3 separate regions of the Homo sapiens genome follow, and all the other regions are linked to region 3. Evidence: promoter capture Hi-C in 16 types of primary human blood cells and fetal thymus (Javierre and others, 2016). All regions are on one chromosome and are shown on one strand. The core of a region is centred on a gene start or on the middle of the fragment in contact, and the rest is flanking DNA. Distances in the headings are between cores, read along the strand shown.

Region 1 (3,375 bases), core at 154-2,653, 190 kb after region 3:
GAGCCCAATGGCAGGGATTTGCTTTGCCCTTCCATTTAAGGGAGCTCATGCTTCCGTAATAGAAGTCATTTTGAGAAAAGAGTGACATCCTGTTTTATCTCCAAGGCTTTAGGACAGATCACAGCCCCTTAGCTGTCTATTTTGTGTATGTAAAGGGGGAAGAAAGGTTTTACTGAAATGTAAAGATCCAGGATAATTTGCATAATTGCTGCTGCCATGGAGAAGCTGGGCTCTGTGCCAACTGTTCTCTTCTCTACCATAAAAATACCTCTAGCTTAAGCAGCTTTTAAAGTAAACAATCAAGATGAAGGTAAGACTACAGAATCCATCATAGCAAGACTCAGAGATACCTACATACAATCGGGTCTTCTTGCTTGAATAGCATTTGTCAACAAGAACATGGAAGTGAAAACGCAGCAGTCAAATAATGTAGACATGCATTCTGGACCTCTTCATAAATAGGCATAAGGAAAAAAAAAAGCACTCTGAGATGGCACGCAGCCCATAGGGCACAAGTAAGATGACAGAATGTGCCTATCTTCTCCTATTAACAAGTCCCAAATTCTCTGGTAAGAGCTGAGGAGCCTAGACTGGGCGTGGTGTCTCACACCTGTAATCCCAGAATTTTGGGAGGCCTAGGCGTGCAGATCACTTGAGGCCAGGAGTTTGATACCAAACTGGTCAACATGGCGAAACCCTGTCTCTACTAAAAATACAAAATTAGCCGAACATGGTGGCACATGCCTGTAATCTCAGCTACTCAGGAGACTGAGGCATGAGAATCGCTTGAACCTGGGAGGCAGAGGTTGCAATGAGCTGATATTGCACCACTGCACTCCAGCCTGGGCGACAGAATGAGACTCTGTCTCTAAATAAAAAGAAACTATATTTAAAAAAAAAGAGCTAAGGAGCCTAAACACAAAGAATTGGTTTAAAAAATAAAAACAAAACAAAAGGCAATTGGAAAAACACAATACCCCATAGTATTAATAATAAAATTGTTTGACTTGGGTTCATATGGTACCACCTATTTGGGGTAAGTCATTAAGATGTGTTAAACTCTTTCAAAAGGTGTTTGACATCTAAAAATGTTTTGTCTTTCTTCCTTATTTTTAAAATCAGAAATGGGGTCTTGTTACGTTGCCAAGGATGGATTTAAACTCCTGGCCTCAAGCAATCCTCCTGCCTCAAGTCTTCTGAGTAACTGGGATTACAAGCCTAAGCCACCATGCCCAACTTCAAAATGTTTTCTTAAACTAAGATTACTTTCAGATGTTCCTAATTATTTATTACATATTGTCTCACTCTATCACCTAGGCTGGAGTGCAGTAGCACAATCTCAGCTCACTGCAATCTCCACCTCCCGGTTTCAAGTGATTATCGTACTCCATCCCTCCAAGTAGCTGGGACTACAGGTGGGTGTCACCATTCCTGGCTAATTTTTATATTTTTAGTAGAGACCAGGTTTTGCCATGTTGACTAGGCTGGTCTTGAACTCCTGACCGCGGGTGATCTGCCCACCTTGGCATCCGCAATTTCTTAAAAATAGCAATCTACAGATTGTTTTATTCATTCATTTTTTTGAGACAGAGTCTCGCTCTGTCACCAGGCTGAAGCGCAGTGGCGCAATCTCGGCTCACTGCAACCTCCACCTCCCGGGTTCAAGCGATTCTCCTGCCTCAGCCTCCCAAGTAGCTGAGACTACAGGCACACGCCACCATGCCCAGCTAACTTTTGTATTTTTAGTAGAAACGGGGTTTCACCATGTTGGCCAGGATGGTCTCGATCTATTGACCTCATGATCCGCCTGCCTCAACCTCCCAAAATGCTGGGATTACAGGCATGAGCCACTGCACTCGGCCTAGAGATTGTTTTAAATAGGCATGAAAGTTTTACTATATATTTTTAGCAAATGAGAGAAGAGGAAATATTTGAGTAATACAGTTATGACAGTTTTCTTTTCTTTTCTTTTCTTTTTTTTTTTTTTTTTGAGACAGAGTCTCACACTGTCATCCGGGTTGGAGTGCAATGGCGCGATCTTGGCTCACTGCAACCTCCGCCTCCCGGGTTCAAGCAACTCTTCTGCCTCAGCCTCCCGAGTAGCTGAGATTATAGGCACGCACCACCACACCCAGCTAATTTTTTGTATTTTTAGTAGAAATGGGGTTTCACCATGTTGGCCAGGATAGTCTCGATCTCTTGATCTTGTGATTCGCCCGCCTTGGCCTCCCAAAGTGCTGGGATTACAGGCATGAGCCACCGCGCCCGGCAGATAGTGTATTCAAAAGCAAAATCTTAGGAATAAGGAAATAAATACTCACATTCTCAAGCTATATTTTAAGCACTGAATTTTTGGTAATGATGATGGTATTTGTTTTATGCTTACAGATCTTTTCTTCAGTCTTACTGAACTGTTTTTAAAGCATTTTCTGTGTTGCTCATAAAAAGCACAAACTTAAAAGATCACCCTGACACTGAAGGAGCCAAAGAAATAGAGAAATCAATTAATAATTATTATACAATGTGCTATATGTTAAAAACAGAAATATATGCAATGGAAACACAGAGGATAGAGTAACCTCCTAGAAAGGTTCAGGGAACGTTTCACAGAATTGGGGGATGTCTAAGCTGAGTCTTTCCATTCCCTCATCCTCCTTCCTTTCTCCTTGCACAGTGAAACTTTTTTATCCTTTTTGCTTTTTATTTAGAAATTTAGTGATTAAATTTGCTTTTCTAATTTTTCTCATTTATCTTAGGTAATTTTAGTTATCGAGGTTGAGACAAATAGAATTTTTAAGAGTTACCAAGTATGCTTAGGAGAATTTCCATATTTCATAATTCCTAACCTTCATAATTGCCCTAACCGTTATAATCAACAAACAGCTTAGAAAGAAAGGTTACCAAGCTCCCCTGCCTTGGCTTATAATTTTCAGCATCTGCTTTTGATCTCCTCAGCAATCTTTTGGAGCCCCCAGCCCGTAAAATCAAAGACTAGGCAAGGAACTACACAATAATCACACTCAGTAATTTTGCTAAGAAATGAAAAAGTGAGGCTGAGAAGCAGGTGCCATTTTGTTTCACTGTTTTTACTGTGAGAGTTACTATCAAATCCTACAGAAAGATGTTAGGATCATTTTTGTGCCTTCATATATATCCTCAGATGTTAGTAATTCAATGTAGCTTCACTCAATACAGCTAAAATATTCTAGTGTATCTACCATCTGTGCATTTTTGTCAAAATGCCTTTGTGTACCTCCTAAACTCTGACTTCCTAATATAGTAGAACTTTTTATTGCAAGCTTGTATACTTTGATATGTTTTCCAAAAATAAAAGTAAAATATACATAGTAAATTAGGACTTGGCTGTTAAAAAAT
Region 2 (3,286 bases), core at 582-3,081, 230 kb after region 3:
ATAAAATTCCTAAAAGAAAATGTAGAAGGAAATCTTTGTGACTTTGGGTTAGGCAAAATTTCTTAGATATGACAGCATGATTTTTTTTTTTTAAAAAAAGCTGGTAAACTGAACTTCACCAAAACTATAAACTTCTGTCCTTCAAAAAGGCAGTACTAAGAAAATGAACACAAGACACAAACTACTACAGGTTACTGTGATAGTACACATTCCTGCCACCTCTCTGGAAGCCACTCCTGAGTCTTATCTGCTGATCTGATTTGGCCTACCAGACTTCCAGATGTTGGAATTCCTTAGGTTCAGTCAGTCTTTTCTTTCTCTAAAATATTTTGGCATTTTTTAAATTTTTTAATTTTTATTTATTTTTTATTTTTATTTTTGGAGATGGAGTCTCACTCTGTCACCCAGGCTGGAGTGCTGTGGCACCATCTTGGCTCACTGCAACCTCTGCATCCTGGGTTCAAGTGAGTCTCCTGTCTCAGCCTCCAAAGTGGCTGGGACTACAGGTGCGCATCACCAGGCCAGGCTAATTTTTGTATCTTTAGTACTTATATTTTGCATTTTGGAGATGGGGTTTCACCATTTTGGCCAGGTTGGTCTTGAACGTCTGACCTCAAGTGATCTGTCCACCTCAGCCTCCCAAAGTGCTGGGATTACAGGCATGAGCTATGGCACCTGGCGTTTTTTTGTTTGTTTGTTTGTTTGTTTGTTTTTGAGATGGAGTCTCACTCTGTCACCCAGGCTGGAATGCAATGGCGCAATCTCGGCTCACTGCAACCTCTGCCTTCTGGGTTCAAGCGAGTCTCCTGCCTCAGCCTCCCGAGTAGCCGGGACTACAGGAACGCACCACCACATCCGGCTAATTTTTTATATTTTCAGTAGAGACAAGGTTTCACTATATTGAACTCCTGACCTCGTGATCTGCCCGCCTCGGCCTTCCAAAGTGCTGGGATTACAGGTGTGAACCACTGTACCCAGCCTTTTTTTTTTTTTTTTTTTTTTAATAAAGACGGCTCTATCATCTGGCCTGGGGTACAGTGGCATAATAATAGCTTACTGCAGCCTCCAACTCCTGTGCTCAAGGGATCCTCCCACCTCAGCTTCCCAAGTAATAGGGACCATAGGCATGTGCCACTGCACCTGGCTCCTACTCTAGATTCTTTCCCTGTGTAATTTATTATACTACTTAAGACTTTTAAGCTCCAGACAGTATATCTGAAACCTGGTTCAATATCTTTACAAAGTTTAATCCTCCTCCAATCTTTCCCATTTCAGTACCACCAATTGCTCAAGTCAGAGCTACTACTAGTCAAACTACTACAGGTTACTATGATAGTACACATTCCTGCCACCTCTCTGGAAGCCACTCCTGAGTCTTATCTGCAGATCTGATTTGGCCTACCAGACTCCCAGATGTTGGAATTCTTTAGGTTCAGTCAGTCTTTTGCTTCTCTAAAATCTTTTGGTATCTTTTTAATTTTTTAATTTTTATTTTTTATTTTTTGAGATGGAGTCTCACTCTGTCACCCAGGCTGGAGTGCAGTGGCACTCATCCTGACTATTCTCACTCCCTTATTGTCAACCTTCAACCTAACACCAAAACTTCTGAATGTCACATAAATAATCTGTGATTACATAGAGTTCCTCTCCAATTCTCCCACTGACTTGTCCAAAAAAACCAACAATTCTCACCCAGAATATAGCAACAGCCCTCTAACTTCTTTGTACATCTACCTTGCTCTCCTCCAGCCCAAGCTACATCCAGAAAGGTGTTTTATTTTATATATATATATATATTTTGTTCTTGTTCTTTGAGAAAAAATCTTGCTCTGTCACCCAGGCTGGAGAGCAGTGGCACGATCATAGTTCACTGCAGTCCCAACCTCCTGGGCCCAAGCAGCCTTAGCCTCCTGAGTAGCTGGGACTACAGGCACACACCAACCATGCCCAGCCAATTTTTTATTTTTGTAGAGACAGCATCTTGCTATGTTGCCCAGGCTGGTCTCGAACTCCTGGGCTCAAACGATCTTCCAGCCTCGGCCTCCCAAAGTGCTGGGAATGCAGGCGTGAGCCACTAGAGATTGTTTTTCTCAAAGGCCCAGTGGCTCATGCCTGTAATCCCAGCACATTGAGGCCAAGGCAGGAAGATCGCTTGAGGCCAAGGCAGGACGATCGCTTGAGCCCAGGATTTTGAGACCAGCCTGGGCAACACAGCAAGACCTCATCTCCACTAAAAATAAAAAATAAAATAAAAAATCAGCTAGGTGTTGTGGCACACCCACCTGTAGTACCAGCTACTCAGGAAGCTGAGGTGGGAGGATTCCTTGAGCCCAGGAGGTCAAGGCTACAGTGAGCTATGATTGCACCACTGACTCCAGCCTGGGTGACAGAGCAAGACCTTGTCTCAAAAAAAAAAAAAATTCTGATAATGTAATTTCCCTGCTTAAAATCTTTGAATGTTTTCTCACTGCCCTTCATATATAAAAGTCCCTAATCACACTCATAACTTGCAACTTACAATCTGCAGCATGGTTTGGTGGTTAAGAATATAGTCTCTGAAGCCAAAACACAGTCTCAGAAGCTAGTCCTGCTATATTAATTTTGTGCAAAGTACTCACGGCCTCAGTTCTCTCAAATGTGAATAGAAATTGTTGTAAGGGTTCAATAAACTAATATATGAAAAGTACTTAGAACAGCACTTCACAGTATCACTGTTTACTTTTTGTTGTTGTTAACTGCCCCTACATATCTCTGGCCTCACCATTCCCCACACTGTTGTGAGCAGAGCAAGAGCAAATAACCACCACCAAAAAAAAGCAAGCACTCAGCTGGGTGCAGTTACTCAAACCTGTAATCCCAGCACTTTGGGAGGCCAAGGCAGGCAGACTGCTTGAGTCTAAGAGTTTGAGATCAGCCTGGCAACACAGCAAAACCCCATCTCTACAAAAAATGCAAAAATTAGCTGGATATGGTGGCTCATGCCCATAGTCCCAGCTACTTGGGAGGCTGAGGTGGGAGGATCGCTTGAGCCTGGGAAGTCAAGGCTGCAGCGAGCTAAGATCACACCACTGCACTCCAGCCTGAGTGACAACACGAGACCCTGTCTTAACAACAACAACAACAGGAAACAACAAAAAAGCAAACACTCATACATCTGTGATACATGTGTTTGAAGCACTTTTCAGTTCCCAAATAACTGTTTTCCCTCCTTTAGAACATACAGTTAGTTCTCTCTGCCTGGAACTCTCTTCCAGCATCTTTCCATATGACTACTTCTCTTCCTTTC
Region 3 (3,797 bases), core at 991-3,490:
AAGCTCCCCACCATTCCACACACACACACAAATACGTACTCCACTCTAACACTCACACAATATCCACACTCACACATGCAGATTTATGTATCCGGAATTGGTGGGTTCTTGGTCTCACTGACTTCAAGAATGAAGCCGCGGACCCTCGCAGTGAGTGTTACAGTTCTTAAAGGTGGTGTGTCCGGAGTTTGTTCCTTCTGATGTTCAGATGTGTTCGGAGTTTTTTCCTTCTGGTGGGTTCGTGGTCTTGCTGGCTCATGAGTGAAGCTGCAGACCTTCGCGGTGAGTGTTACAGCTGTTAAGGCCGCGCATCTGGAGTTGTTCATTCCTCCTGTTTCATTCCTCCCGGAGCGATCTCGGTTCACCACAACCTCTGCCTCCCGGGTTCAAGCGATTCTCCTGCCTCAGCTTCTCGAGTAGCTGGCACTACAGGTGTGCGCCACCATGCTGGGCTAATTTTGGATTTTTTAGTAGAGATGGGGTTTCACTATGTTGGCCAGGCTGGTCTTGAACTCCTGACCTCGTGATCCGCCCACCTTGGCCTCCCAAAGCTCTGGGATTACAGGCGTGAGCCACTGCACCCAGCCGTGTTTTGTCCAATTCTTTGTTCAAGATGCCAAGAACCTGGACACCCTCCACCGGTGACAGTACCTTATATACACGGAATCATACAGTATCTGTCCTTTTGAGTCTGGCTTATTTCACTTAGCATAATTGTCAGAGGTGCGTGAACCAGAGCAACTCCATCTTGAATAGGGACTGGGTAGAATAAGGCTGAGACCTACTGGACTGCATTTCCAGTTGGTTTAGGCATTCTAAGTCACAGGATGAGATAGGAGATTGGCTCAAGATACAGGTCATAAAGACCTTGCTGATAAAACAGATTGCAGTAAAGAAACTGGCCAAAACCTACCAAAACCAAGATGGCAACAAGAGTGACCTCTGGTGGTCTTCAACGCTATACTCCTACCACATGCTGTGTCGACATCAGGGAGTTAACTGTATATGGTCTACAAAGCAGAGGCATGAATAATCCAACCCTTGTTTAGCTTATAATCAATAAATAACTGCCTGGGCCAAGTGGCTCGTACTTGTAATCCCAGCACTTTCAGAGGTCGAGGTGGCTGGATCACTTGAGGTCAGGAGTTCGAGACCAGGCTGGCCAATCTGGAGAAACCCCCTCTCTACTAAAAACACAAAAATTAGCTGGGCATGCTGGCAGGCACCTGTAATCCAGGAGAATCACTTGAACCCGGGAAGCGAGGTTGCAGCCTCCCACGTAGCTGGAATTAAGGCGCGGACCAGCACACCTGGGTAATTTTTGTATTTTTAGTAGAGAAGGGGTTTTGCCATGTTGACCAGGCTGGTCTCAGATTCCTGACCGCAGGTGATCCGCCCAAAGTGCTGGAATTACAAGTGTGAGACTCATCTTTTTTTTTTTTTTTTTTTGAGACGGAGTCTTGCTCTGTCTCCCCAGCTAGAGTGCAGTGGTTCGCTGGATCTCAGCTCACTGCAACCTCTGCCTTACGAGTTCAAGCGATTCTCCCGCCTCAGCCCTCCTGAGTGGCTGGGATTACAGGCGCGCGCCACCACGCCCGACTAATTTTTTTTTTTTGTATTTTTAGTAGAGACGGGGTTTCACCACATTGGTCAGGCTGGTCTCGAACTCCTGACCTCATGATCCACCCGCCTCGGCCTCCCAAAGTGCTGGGATTACAGGCGTGAGCCACCGTGCCCGGCCCAAGACTCATCTTTCTTAAGCCCTTAAAGCACTTTGCACACATTACCTCATGGTATTACCACCCTCATTCAACAGATGAGGAAAGCTAGTTTCAAGCAAGTTCACTGAGGATCAGAGACGTTAAATGATTTGCCTAAAGTTAGAGAACTAATAAGTGAGAAAGCTAGTCCTGCTGCGTTTTACTAACGTGCCAATCAGCTGCCCAGGAAGATAATGAAAACTTGAGTAAGACAGGCAGCCAAAGCCACAGCGGGGACGTTCCCAGCCTGGCTCGCTTCCGGCACTGACGCCTCCAGCCGCGACCTCTAGACTTCAGCCCTTCCATTGGTCGTCCGTCACAGTGCCACAGTGCGCCATGCTCACACGACGGCCAGCAGCCAATCAGCGCGGCTCATCTTCGCCCAGCCAGGACACGCAGGATCGCGTTATCTGTCCCTCCCGCGGGCACATTGGGAGTTGTAGTCTAATTATATATTTCCGCCCTTAGTGTGGGGAGAGCGGGAACTACTCGACCCACAGAGCCGATCGCGGAGCGGATTCTGCTTTTAGGAGTACCCGCCAACAAGCGGGACCGAGCAGGAATCCGTATCTGGGAACAGGTGAGAGAGGATGTGTGCTGGGCCTTGGAGGAAGGGGGCCGAGACCGGGCCTTACTTCTGTAACGATACTGTGAGGCATCGGAAGGCCAGCCTGTTGTGTCCGTTTTGAAGGTCGGTGGGCTAGACTGGCTGGCCTTCTAGGGGTGTGGAGACTTCCCAACTCTGCCCTTGTGCTTTCCTGGAATCCCCAATATGCCCGGACCCCGGTTTACTCCTTTGCTGCGAGCCCTTCTCTCCCGTCCAGAGTTGCTCCGAGCCTATCTGCTCAGTCCTAGCGATTCCTGTGGGGCTTGGGACGCGCGGTTCAAGCACCCCGGACCATATGGATGCAGCACCCATGGGTTCTCGCTCCAATGCTTCTTTCCTCCTTGGGGCGTAACTCAGACCCTGGGCACCCCTCTCCACTGCCCAGGGGAGACCTGGGTTCTAGATTTGGCTCTGCCTCTACTATCTTCCTACCTCCTAGAGCCTCAGTTTGGCTTGTGTAAAATAGGATGACTTAAGGGTCCTTTCAGCCCCTAATCCTGGGGTACTTTACTCTGTACCGCCTCCTTACCCAGCCTTGTGCACGCCATCTTGAAGGCACTGAGTTCTAGCCTGTTTATTGTAAGTGGTGATTAGTTGGGTCTCAGTCACCCAGCCATACTTTTTTGTTCCCTGCGTATCCTTCCTGTAATTGTCCCCAAGCACATTCCACAAGAGGGAGGGGCACTCTGGGCTAAGGCTGGGGTGGGAGTTATCTGGGGAGCTGCCACCATGCCTCTGCCTTTGGTGCTTGCCCCTGCAGGGAGTGCTTAGTGCCCCCTCCCTATGCCACTCCCAGGATGCCCCTGTCCCGCTGGTTGAGATCTGTGGGGGTCTTCCTGCTGCCAGCCCCCTACTGGGCACCCCGGGAGAGGTGGCTGGGTTCCCTACGGCGGCCCTCCCTGGTGCACGGGTACCCAGTCCTGGCCTGGCACAGTGCCCGCTGCTGGTGCCAAGCGTGGACAGAGGAACCTCGGTGAGTGTGGTTGGGGTGAGGGGCCTTGGGGAGGGGAGCAGCTGATCAGGTTTCTGACTTGTTTTTCTTCTACTTAGAGCCCTTTGCTCCTCCCTCAGAATGAACGGAGACCAGAATTCAGATGTTTATGCCCAAGAAAAGCAGGATTTCGTTCAGCACTTCTCCCAGATCGTTAGGGTGCTGACTGAGGATGAGATGGGGCACCCAGAGATAGGAGATGCTATTGCCCGGCTCAAGGAGGTGAGGGATTCATGACTTGGGGGAGTAAGGCTTTGGTTCAGTTGCTCTGTACCTGTGTGGCATTCACCTGTGGCTTATGGGGGACTTTTGACAGATGTGAGAGAAAGCTTTTTTTTTTTTTTTGAGACAGAGCCTTGCTCTGTCACCTGGGCTGGAGTGCGATGGTGTGATCTCGGCTTGCTGCAACCTCCACCTCCTGGGTTCAAGTGATTCTCCT

The links. The method cuts DNA at HindIII sites, captures the fragments that hold promoters and counts their contacts. A CHiCAGO score of 5 or more calls a contact.
Region 1: a contact is called between a fragment that was not itself captured here and the fragment with the promoter of FDPS in region 3, in 1 of 17 cell types (endothelial precursors). The highest score is 5.2, in endothelial precursors.
Region 2: a contact is called between a fragment that was not itself captured here and the fragment with the promoter of FDPS in region 3, in 1 of 17 cell types (endothelial precursors). The highest score is 6.5, in endothelial precursors.

The regions. Positions count from the first base shown.
Region 1 is chr1:155,500,099-155,503,473 of GRCh38, forward strand. All of the region lies in intron 2 of ASH1L (ASH1 like histone lysine methyltransferase), which reads right to left. Among named protein-coding and RNA genes, the nearest start is that of ASH1L-AS1, 60 kb to the right of the region's middle. RefSeq lists enhancers at 1-417, 98-267. The HindIII fragment of the contact is 3,787 bases long and covers 1-3,297 here.
Region 2 is chr1:155,537,662-155,540,947 of GRCh38, forward strand. The region is part of intron 1 of ASH1L (ASH1 like histone lysine methyltransferase); the gene reads right to left. Among named protein-coding and RNA genes, the nearest start is that of ASH1L-AS1, 23 kb to the right of the region's middle. RefSeq lists a silencer at 3,160-3,209. The HindIII fragment of the contact is 4,484 bases long and covers 1-3,286 here.
Region 3 is chr1:155,306,626-155,310,422 of GRCh38, forward strand. It overlaps FDPS (farnesyl diphosphate synthase), which reads left to right and starts at 2,241. Exons shown (of 11, transcript NM_002004.4): 1 at 2,241-2,340; 2 at 3,164-3,340; 3 at 3,418-3,580. The coding sequence starts at 3,165. It also overlaps a transcript of PKLR not described here. RefSeq lists enhancers at 999-1,068, 1,971-2,100, 2,431-2,600. The HindIII fragment of the contact is 5,584 bases long and covers 1-3,685 here.